2 separate regions of the Homo sapiens genome follow, and region 2 is linked to region 1. Evidence: promoter capture Hi-C in 16 types of primary human blood cells and fetal thymus (Javierre and others, 2016). All regions are on one chromosome and are shown on one strand. The core of a region is centred on a gene start or on the middle of the fragment in contact, and the rest is flanking DNA. Distances in the headings are between cores, read along the strand shown.

Region 1 (3,919 bases), core at 50-2,549:
CCCAGGGGCGGAGCTCTACCCTAACTCCAGTGTAGGGCTTAGAGAGGAAAAGGACACTGCCCCCAGGTGCTTGTGGAGCAGCAGGGAAAGTCAGAGGAGTGATCTGACTTTTTTTTTCATCCTATTAACTTTTGGGAGAATTAACCATAAGGCTGTAAAGTGAATTAATTGCTTCAGAAAAGAACATGAGCAGTGGTGCCAAACACTAATTTTACTTTTTAAAACCATCTCTAAAAATAAGGGTCTTTTGGGAGAGCCTGTTGTTGACTGTTTTCCTGTTGTTTTTATTGCTTTGCGTCTAGGAAATTACAAACAATGATTCTTTGCAATGGTAAATCACCTGGGGAGCTTTTAAAACAATAGTGATGCCTGGCTCCCCAACACTCCACCCTACTCTAAATTCAATTAAATCAAAATCTCTAGGGCTGGTGTCCAGGCATTAGTTTTTTTGTTGTTGTTTTTGAGACAGGGTCTCGCTCTGGTGCTCAGGCTGGAGTGCAGGGCATGATCATGGCTCACAGCAACCTCGACCTCCTGGAATCCCACTTCAGCCTCCCGAGTATCTGGGACTACAGGCACACGCCATCAAGCCTGGCTAGTTTTTGTATTTTTAGTAGAGATGGGGTTTCACCATGTTGGCCAGGCTGGTCTGGAACTCCTGACCTCAAGTGATCCGCCCACCTCGGTCTCCCAAGTGTTGGGATTACAGGCGTGAGCCGCCTCGCCCGTCCTAGTTCTTTTTTTTTTTTTTTAAAGCTTCCCGGCTTATTCTATGTGCCGTCAGAGTTGAGAACTACCGTTCTAGAGCATTATACTGATACATTAAAACGTGGCTACAAATATGTTTTTAGAAACAATTAGTGCGACTTTTGCGCATGCCCACATCCTTTACAGCCTGTGTGGCTGGGCCCACTAATGACATTTATCCAGTCCCCCAAACTTGCACTGTCCTTCCACAATCAGTGGGAGAAACAATCCTAACGTCCCTTTCTCTCACTTGAAATGAACTGCTAGCTGGCTCGGACGGAGAGGCCCAGAGTCCAGGGCTGTTCTGTGTGGGACTCTAGACTCGGAGGAGGCGCCCAGGCCCCTAGAAGGCGGCGCCGGATGAGGCAATCGCGGACCCGGGTCAGGACCTGCCCACGGCTCTGCTGGGACTAGGAGCCCAGAACCAGTCCCTCGGCGCCGCAGGCGGCCAAACGCTAAGGACTACATTTCCCACAATGCACCCCGGGGGCGGGCCGAGTCGGGCTGAGCGGCTGGAGCTGGGCCTTGGCCGCGAGAGGCCGGCGAAAGCTATCTTCCTGCACCGGCGGCCGGGTGAGGGCGGTGGGAGGGAGCGGTGCCTGCGCTGTGGCCATGTCTGTGTACGCAGGGGGCCGGGGCCCCGCGAAGCTGTGCCCTCAGGCCGGCCCCGGCCGGACACCCTTACCCCTCCATGGGTCCGGCAGAGGGCAGTGACCGGCACCTTCTGTGCGTCCTGGACTCCTCTGAGAAACAGGTGAGTTGACTGCCAGCCCACGTGGCCTGGAGGCACCTAGAGACTGGAGAGCTGTCATCTTTGGAGGGAGGGGCTTGAAGACGGGGGCCTCCAGCCATCAACGCTATCGTTTGCAATGGGAAGACTGTGTCTCCCTGCGGTCCCTCAGCCGGCTAGTCCCCAGCTGGGGAATACAAAAGGCGAGATCTGGAACCCATCCTTTGGCTGGGAGGGCGAGATCCGGTAGGGGGCAGTGGCCAGGTAGGACTCTCCCCACTCCCCCACCCCCGCCCCGCCAACAAACGTACACATATTCGGCCGGTAGAGTCTTCTCAAAAAGCAACAGAGGTAACTGGGATGAGCGGGGCAGCACCTGGAAGGGGCTTGGGTCTTTGCTTTGTTGTTTTTAGACGGAGTTTCACTCTTGTTGCCCAGTCTGGAGTGCAGTGGTGTGATCTCAGCTCTCTGCAACCTCCGCCTCCCAGGTTCAAGCGATTCTCCTGCCTCAGCCTCCCGAGTAGCTGGGATTACAGGCATGCGCCACCACGCCCAGCTAATTTTTTGTATTTTTGTATTTTTTTAGTAGAGACGGGGTTTCACCATGTTGGCCAGGCTCGTCTTGAACTCCTGACCTCAGGTGATCTGCCTGCCTCAGCTTCCCAAAGTGCTGGGATTACAGGCATGAGCCACTGCGCCTGGCCGGACTTTGCACCAGTTTGCCTGGTGCAACTGGGTTGTCCCTTGTACTGGGTGAGCCACCCTTTCTGGGCACAAGTTTGCAGAGGGAGAGTGAGCACCCTTTGTCAGGGAGGGAAGTAACCGCCAGAAGTGACAAGGACCAGACTGTGATCTCAGCATGGAGTAGGCATCCTGCTGAAGCAGCCATAGCACAGCCTCACCTGGGCCTTGTCTGCCACACATCCTGTATCCTGGCACCTCCTTTCCAGACAGGCCGCTCCAAAGGGTTAAGGTGAAATGAAGTGCTATCCAAGCAAGAAGAGGGAGCAGGAGTGGTAGGGAGTCAGTAGGGAGGGGCTTCTGAAGGCCTTCTCTGCTCCAAGGCTGCCTGAGTGAGAGAGGCACACTACAAGGGCTGATTGAGCCAACTTGTTTGGTGACATTGCTCACAGGCATAGCAGGGCACTTCTAGGAAAAGCAAGGCCTGGGGCTTCTAGAGGGGTTGTCTGAGAAGGGTTCCCTGAGAAGGGGCATCTGGGGCTGGTTCTAAGAGACCTCCTTTGCCTAACTTCTTCAATTCTAGCCTCCCAGGAGCTTCAGTTGCACAGTTGTGGCTCCAATGGGGGTTGGGGTGGATTTTGCTGTGATTCACTCAGCCTCCCTGTCTGAGTTTCCAGAGTAAGTATTCAGAGAGCTGTTTGCTTCATCAGGCCTCTGGCTGGACCCCAGACTGACCTAGGAGATGCTGAGATACTGTATGATCTCAGGTGGCAGGAGAACTATTGTGAAGGAAGCATCCACTAGCTCTGGCCAGCTGATCTGGCCCCCGCCAACCCTTCCCCATGCAGGTACCGTGCTGGGTACCACTCAGCCACACTGGGCTTAGTCAGCTAAAGCCCACAAGGGATCAGTGGAGAGTGGGCCCTGAGGACAGAATAAGTAAGCTATTGTAGACCTTGTTTGGGTCTTTGAACCAAAAGTGCAACGTCACAGAGCAGTGGCATGTGGCAGACCAAGGAGTTTTTTGTTTTTTTTTGTTGTTTTTTTTTTTGAGACAGAGTTTCAATCTTTTGCCCAGGCTGGAGTGCAATGGCGCGATATCAGCTCACTGCAACCTCTGCCCCCTGGGTTCAAGTGATTCTCCTGCCTCAGCCTCCTGAGTAGCTGGGATTATAGGCGCCTGCCACCATACCTGGCTAATTAAGGAGTTTAATTTAGGAGATACTTCCAAGAGCAGCAGAGAGCCCGTTGTCTATTCCTGCAACTCCAGAGCCAGTGAACAACCAGTTAGCCTGGAGGAACTCCCAGCTGTCTATAAGACAGCTCTTTGACCTGACTCCCAACTGTCTATATGATAGCCCTAGCCTGAAGGTGAGTCGCTTCAGGCTAGGGCCCACCTGGCTTTGCAAGGTCAGAAGCGTATTTGCCCATATGCCACTGTAGGCTGAGCAAAATCTCAGAGGCCCGATTTACATGGCACAGACCACTGGATTCATGTGGTATTATAAGTGCAGTCACACATGGACTGAATGCTAAGTAAGAATAATCAGGATGTGCTAATGGGAGCAACTGAGTATGTAATCAAATTACATGGATTATTTCATTTAATCTTCCCACAACCCAAGGAATCAATACTACTATCCCATTTTATAAATGAGAAAACTGAGACCAGGCCAGGTTAATCCAGGTCCCTCTAACTTCGGAGCCATTGTTCCTGAACACCTGAGTAGTACCAGTGATAAGTCTTCCCCACAGGCAGGG
Region 2 (3,919 bases), core at 1,066-3,565, 120 kb before region 1:
AGGTGAGGTGGCAAGTGCCTGTAATCCCAGCTACTCGGGAGGCTGAGGCAGCAGAATCACTGGAACCCAGGAGCCAGAGGTTGTAGTGAGTGGAAATCACGCCATTGCACTCTAGCCTGGGCAACAGAATGAGATTCCGTTTCAAAAAAAAAGAGTATAGCCTAAAATTTTAAATATCCCACTCTAAGAGAATATGGAGTTTAATAGAGGTAAAATGCCATGGTGTCTGAAGTTCTATACCCTTGGAAACCCAAGAATATCCAAAAAATGTACGACTCCCAAAGAACTAGTCTCTCCAAACCTACTTTTCCAACCAAGAATTCCTTTATGACCACCCCCAGGAGAGGTGAGAAGATATTATATGTCAAGGAACTGTTATTTTTATAACTGATAGAAATAATGGCACATGTCCTTGGGAAAGTGTCTCCAATTGCAGGTCCAGAACTCTCTATGGCCACATGTAGCAGCTGGGAAGGAGAAATTATGAATGACCTTGTCTTGACCTCCTCCTGTTCAACTGAAGTGACCTGAGGAAGAAGAGCTTTGTCCTTGGGAATGCATGTTAGCAGGCAGCCTTCCTAGAGATATGGAGGAGCTGTTATTCCAGATACTTACTTCTAAAGAAAGGGATTCTTGGTACTTACTCGTTTGCAGTACCAAAAATCCAGGCTTGATACATACTCCAGGGTAACTTCTTTGTCCTGGATCATTAGAGTTCCCTGTAAAGACAAAGACAGAAGCCATCAACATCAACCCTTGGAGAAACAGACAGAGACAGAAAGGCACAGAGAGCCTTTCCAATCCCCAAGCTGAAACATTTTATAAAGAGTGAGCTTAATTCACTGGTGAAAGGAAATGGCTGTTTTAAGCCACAGACCTGGGGCAGTGTTACAGAGCAAGCTTTAGCTTAGGAAAGGGGAGTACGAGAAGGTGAAATCAGTCTTCGGCCTTGGTTCCTGCAGGTTAGGGTGCTGTCCTTGGGCAGGCTATGCCCAGTCTACTTGTCCAGAGGTCAGGTAATGCACTCTCTTGAATCCCAGCAAGTCCCCCACCTAGCTCAGGAGCTAGCACACTATCAAGAAGTAAACTGTTCCTTCTGCACAGAGGCAGAGGAGCCCTCTTCTTTTCCACAGCTATCTCACATCTCCTTGGAAAGGTAGTAAGGGCTATAACTTTAGTGCCTGAAAATTTTCTTTGAAACACTGGCTGTATGGCAAAAGCACCAGGACAAAGACATACAACATTGAAGACAGGAAGAAAGGAGGAAGGTGAAAGCTTCACAGCAAGTTACATCCTTACAGCAGGAAACTGATTGGCTGGTGGGAGCAACAGCGGCGGCGGCGGTATCACTCTGGCTTGGAGCCTATAGAGTGAGCTAGCCCTGAGATCTGAGGAGCAACCATTGGCAAGTAAGCCTTTGGGAAAGTCTGGCACAGGAACAGGTGGGAAAAGGGGCTCAACAAGCCTGTTAAAGAGCTCCCTTGCCTCTCCATTTTGGACAAGTCATGAATTCTATTTCACATTAAAATAAAGTTTTGTTTAATAAACACTAGGCAGCAGGTATGTGTTGGTGCAGGGGAAAAAAATTCTCTGCCTACTGACAAGGGACCCTCACCCACACTTGAAAGTGAACTAACCGAGAATGCGACTCTGGAACTAGCCCCTGCGCTGTGTTCATTCTCCGCCCTCTAGGGTCCTCTGTGTTTCCTCAGACAGGGCTCTGAGTTATACAAGCCATTTCTTTGCAATTGGACCTCAGTTTCTTGCTTGAATCCATACATCTGTCAAATAATGCTTTACCTCTCTGCTTTTCACATCAAAAAAGTCAAGAGAAATACACAGGATAAAATTATTGTCTTGTCAAAACCAAGGAAAATTGCCCATCTACCTAGGTCTTAGCATCTGGTCTGAGACACTATTCCCTGGCTTGTTCTCAAGGCTAAGGACAATGATAATAAAAATCGCTAACATTTATTAAGCACTTACTAAGAGCCAGAAACCACGAAGTACATTATCTTATTTAATCCCCTAAATGATCCGATGAAATAACATTATCTACACTTTACAGATGAGGACCTATGTTCACAGAGGTGGGGTCACCCAGGTGGTGAAGGGCACAGCTGGACTTACATCTGGGCTGTAGAGAAGGGATCTCCTGTTTCATTTTTCTTTTTCCTTTTGTTTTGACTGAGGGATCTCCTGTTTCATTCACCAGCTTCTGCTCAGTATTAGGGACAGGTAATCTGGCCTTAGGGACCAATCAGAAAAGAGACAGGCTCTGTATGCAGGGAAGGATCTGGGAAGGACCACTCTATCAAGCTCCACCAATGCAGGAAGTTAGTCAAGATGAAGCGCCCCCTCCTTTTTTTTTTTTTTTTTTCCCTGAGACAGAGTTTCGCTCTTGTTGCCCAGGCTGGAGTGCTATGGCGTGATCTCGGCTCACTGCAACCTCCGCCTCCCAGGTTCAAGCGAGTCTCCTGCCTCAGCCTCCCGAGTAGCTGGGATTATAGATATATGCCACCACGCTTGGCTAATTTTGTATTTTTAGTAGAGACGGGGTTTCTCCACGTTGGTCAGGCTGGTCTCGAATTCCCAACCTTAGGTAATCCGCCCACCTCGGCCTCCCAAAGTGCTGGGATTACAGGCGTAAGCCACTGCGCCTGGCCGTCTTTTTTTTTTTTTTGAGACAGAGTCTTGCTCTGTCACTCACTCTCAAGTACAGTGGCACGATCTCGGCTCACCACAACCTCCGCCTCCCAGGTTCAAGCAATTCTCCTGCCTCAGCCTCCCGAGTAGCTGGGACTACAGGCGCACACCACCATGCCTGGCTAATTTTTGTATTTTTAGTAGAGATGGGGTTTCACTATGTTGGTCAGGCTGGTCTCGAACTCCTGACCTCGTGATCTGCCCGCTTTGGCCTCCCAAAGTGCTGGGATTACAGACGTGAGCCACTGTGTCCGGCCTAAGATGAACCCCTTCTAAGCCCAGAGACAGGATATAACATCTTTAAGAGCATGGACTGTAGGCTGAGTTCCCTAAATTTGAATCCTGCCTCTACTCCATGACCTTCAGCAAGGTCCTTAACTTCTTTGTGCTTCCATTTCCTCATCTGTAAAGTAAGGACAACAGTACCTATTTCTTAGGGTGGTTGTGAAGATTAAGTAAATTCATACATGTAAAGAGCTTAGCATAGAATATAGTGAGGGCTCAAGAAATGTTGATCATTATAAGCCCTAGGAACCAAAAAAGACCAGCATCAGCAGGTGGGAGTCAAACAGCCACTCATTTCACCTTGCTTGCTTGCTAGGTAGGAATATTCCACCACCCATTTTAATCTCCTGAAAGACTAAGCTTTCATACGGAATGGTCACTACACATCAGAAACTGTATCTTTACGACAGTACTTTGTGTTGTCAAATTACTGGTCCAGATCTCACAGTCTACTTAATCTTGCTGGCCTTTTATTTATTTTCAGCAACAAAGAGTATCTGGTACCAAAAAGGAGCTTAGTAAGCTCTTGTTGAATGAATCAAAGACTGAATAGAGCCAACTATCCCTGGAGGACCTGGTGCTTGGTACACAGTGGCTCTGGAGGGAGATACTGCTGTTAGAGCATACATCTGTATACCCAATCCATAAAACATGTGGGTTGTCATTTGAACAGTGAGTAAGAACAAGGCACTACTGTCAATTTCAGTCACCTGCAAATTCTGATTTCACCAACTGGAGGCATTAATGGATTCAGGTATTTCTAAGGCACTTTATACTTCTCAGACAACAAAAATGTTCCAGTAGCTGTGGATGACCTTTTGTTGAGGGCAGGGAACTCCCCTTGCCAGGAGTCCCCATCAGCATGTCAACTTTGAGATTACTTTTACCTCATGTGTTACAAAAGCAATGATTTCTTATTCTCACAGAA

What was found. The method cuts DNA at HindIII sites, captures the fragments that hold promoters and counts their contacts. A CHiCAGO score of 5 or more calls a contact.
Region 2: a contact is called between a fragment that was not itself captured here and the fragment with the promoter of MON1A in region 1, in 1 of 17 cell types (endothelial precursors). The highest score is 8.3, in endothelial precursors.

The regions. Positions count from the first base shown.
Region 1 is chr3:49,927,191-49,931,109 of GRCh38, reverse strand. MON1A (MON1 vesicular trafficking associated A) reads left to right here and starts at 1,299. Exons shown (of 6, transcript NM_032355.4): 1 at 1,299-1,501. RefSeq lists a silencer at 1,243-1,592. The HindIII fragment of the contact is 4,855 bases long and covers 759-3,919 here.
Region 2 is chr3:50,045,045-50,048,963 of GRCh38, reverse strand. RBM6 (RNA binding motif protein 6) reads right to left here. Exons shown (of 21, transcript NM_005777.3): 7 at 645-719. Among named protein-coding and RNA genes, the nearest start is that of RBM5, 42 kb to the left of the region's middle. The HindIII fragment of the contact is 2,076 bases long and covers 1,278-3,353 here.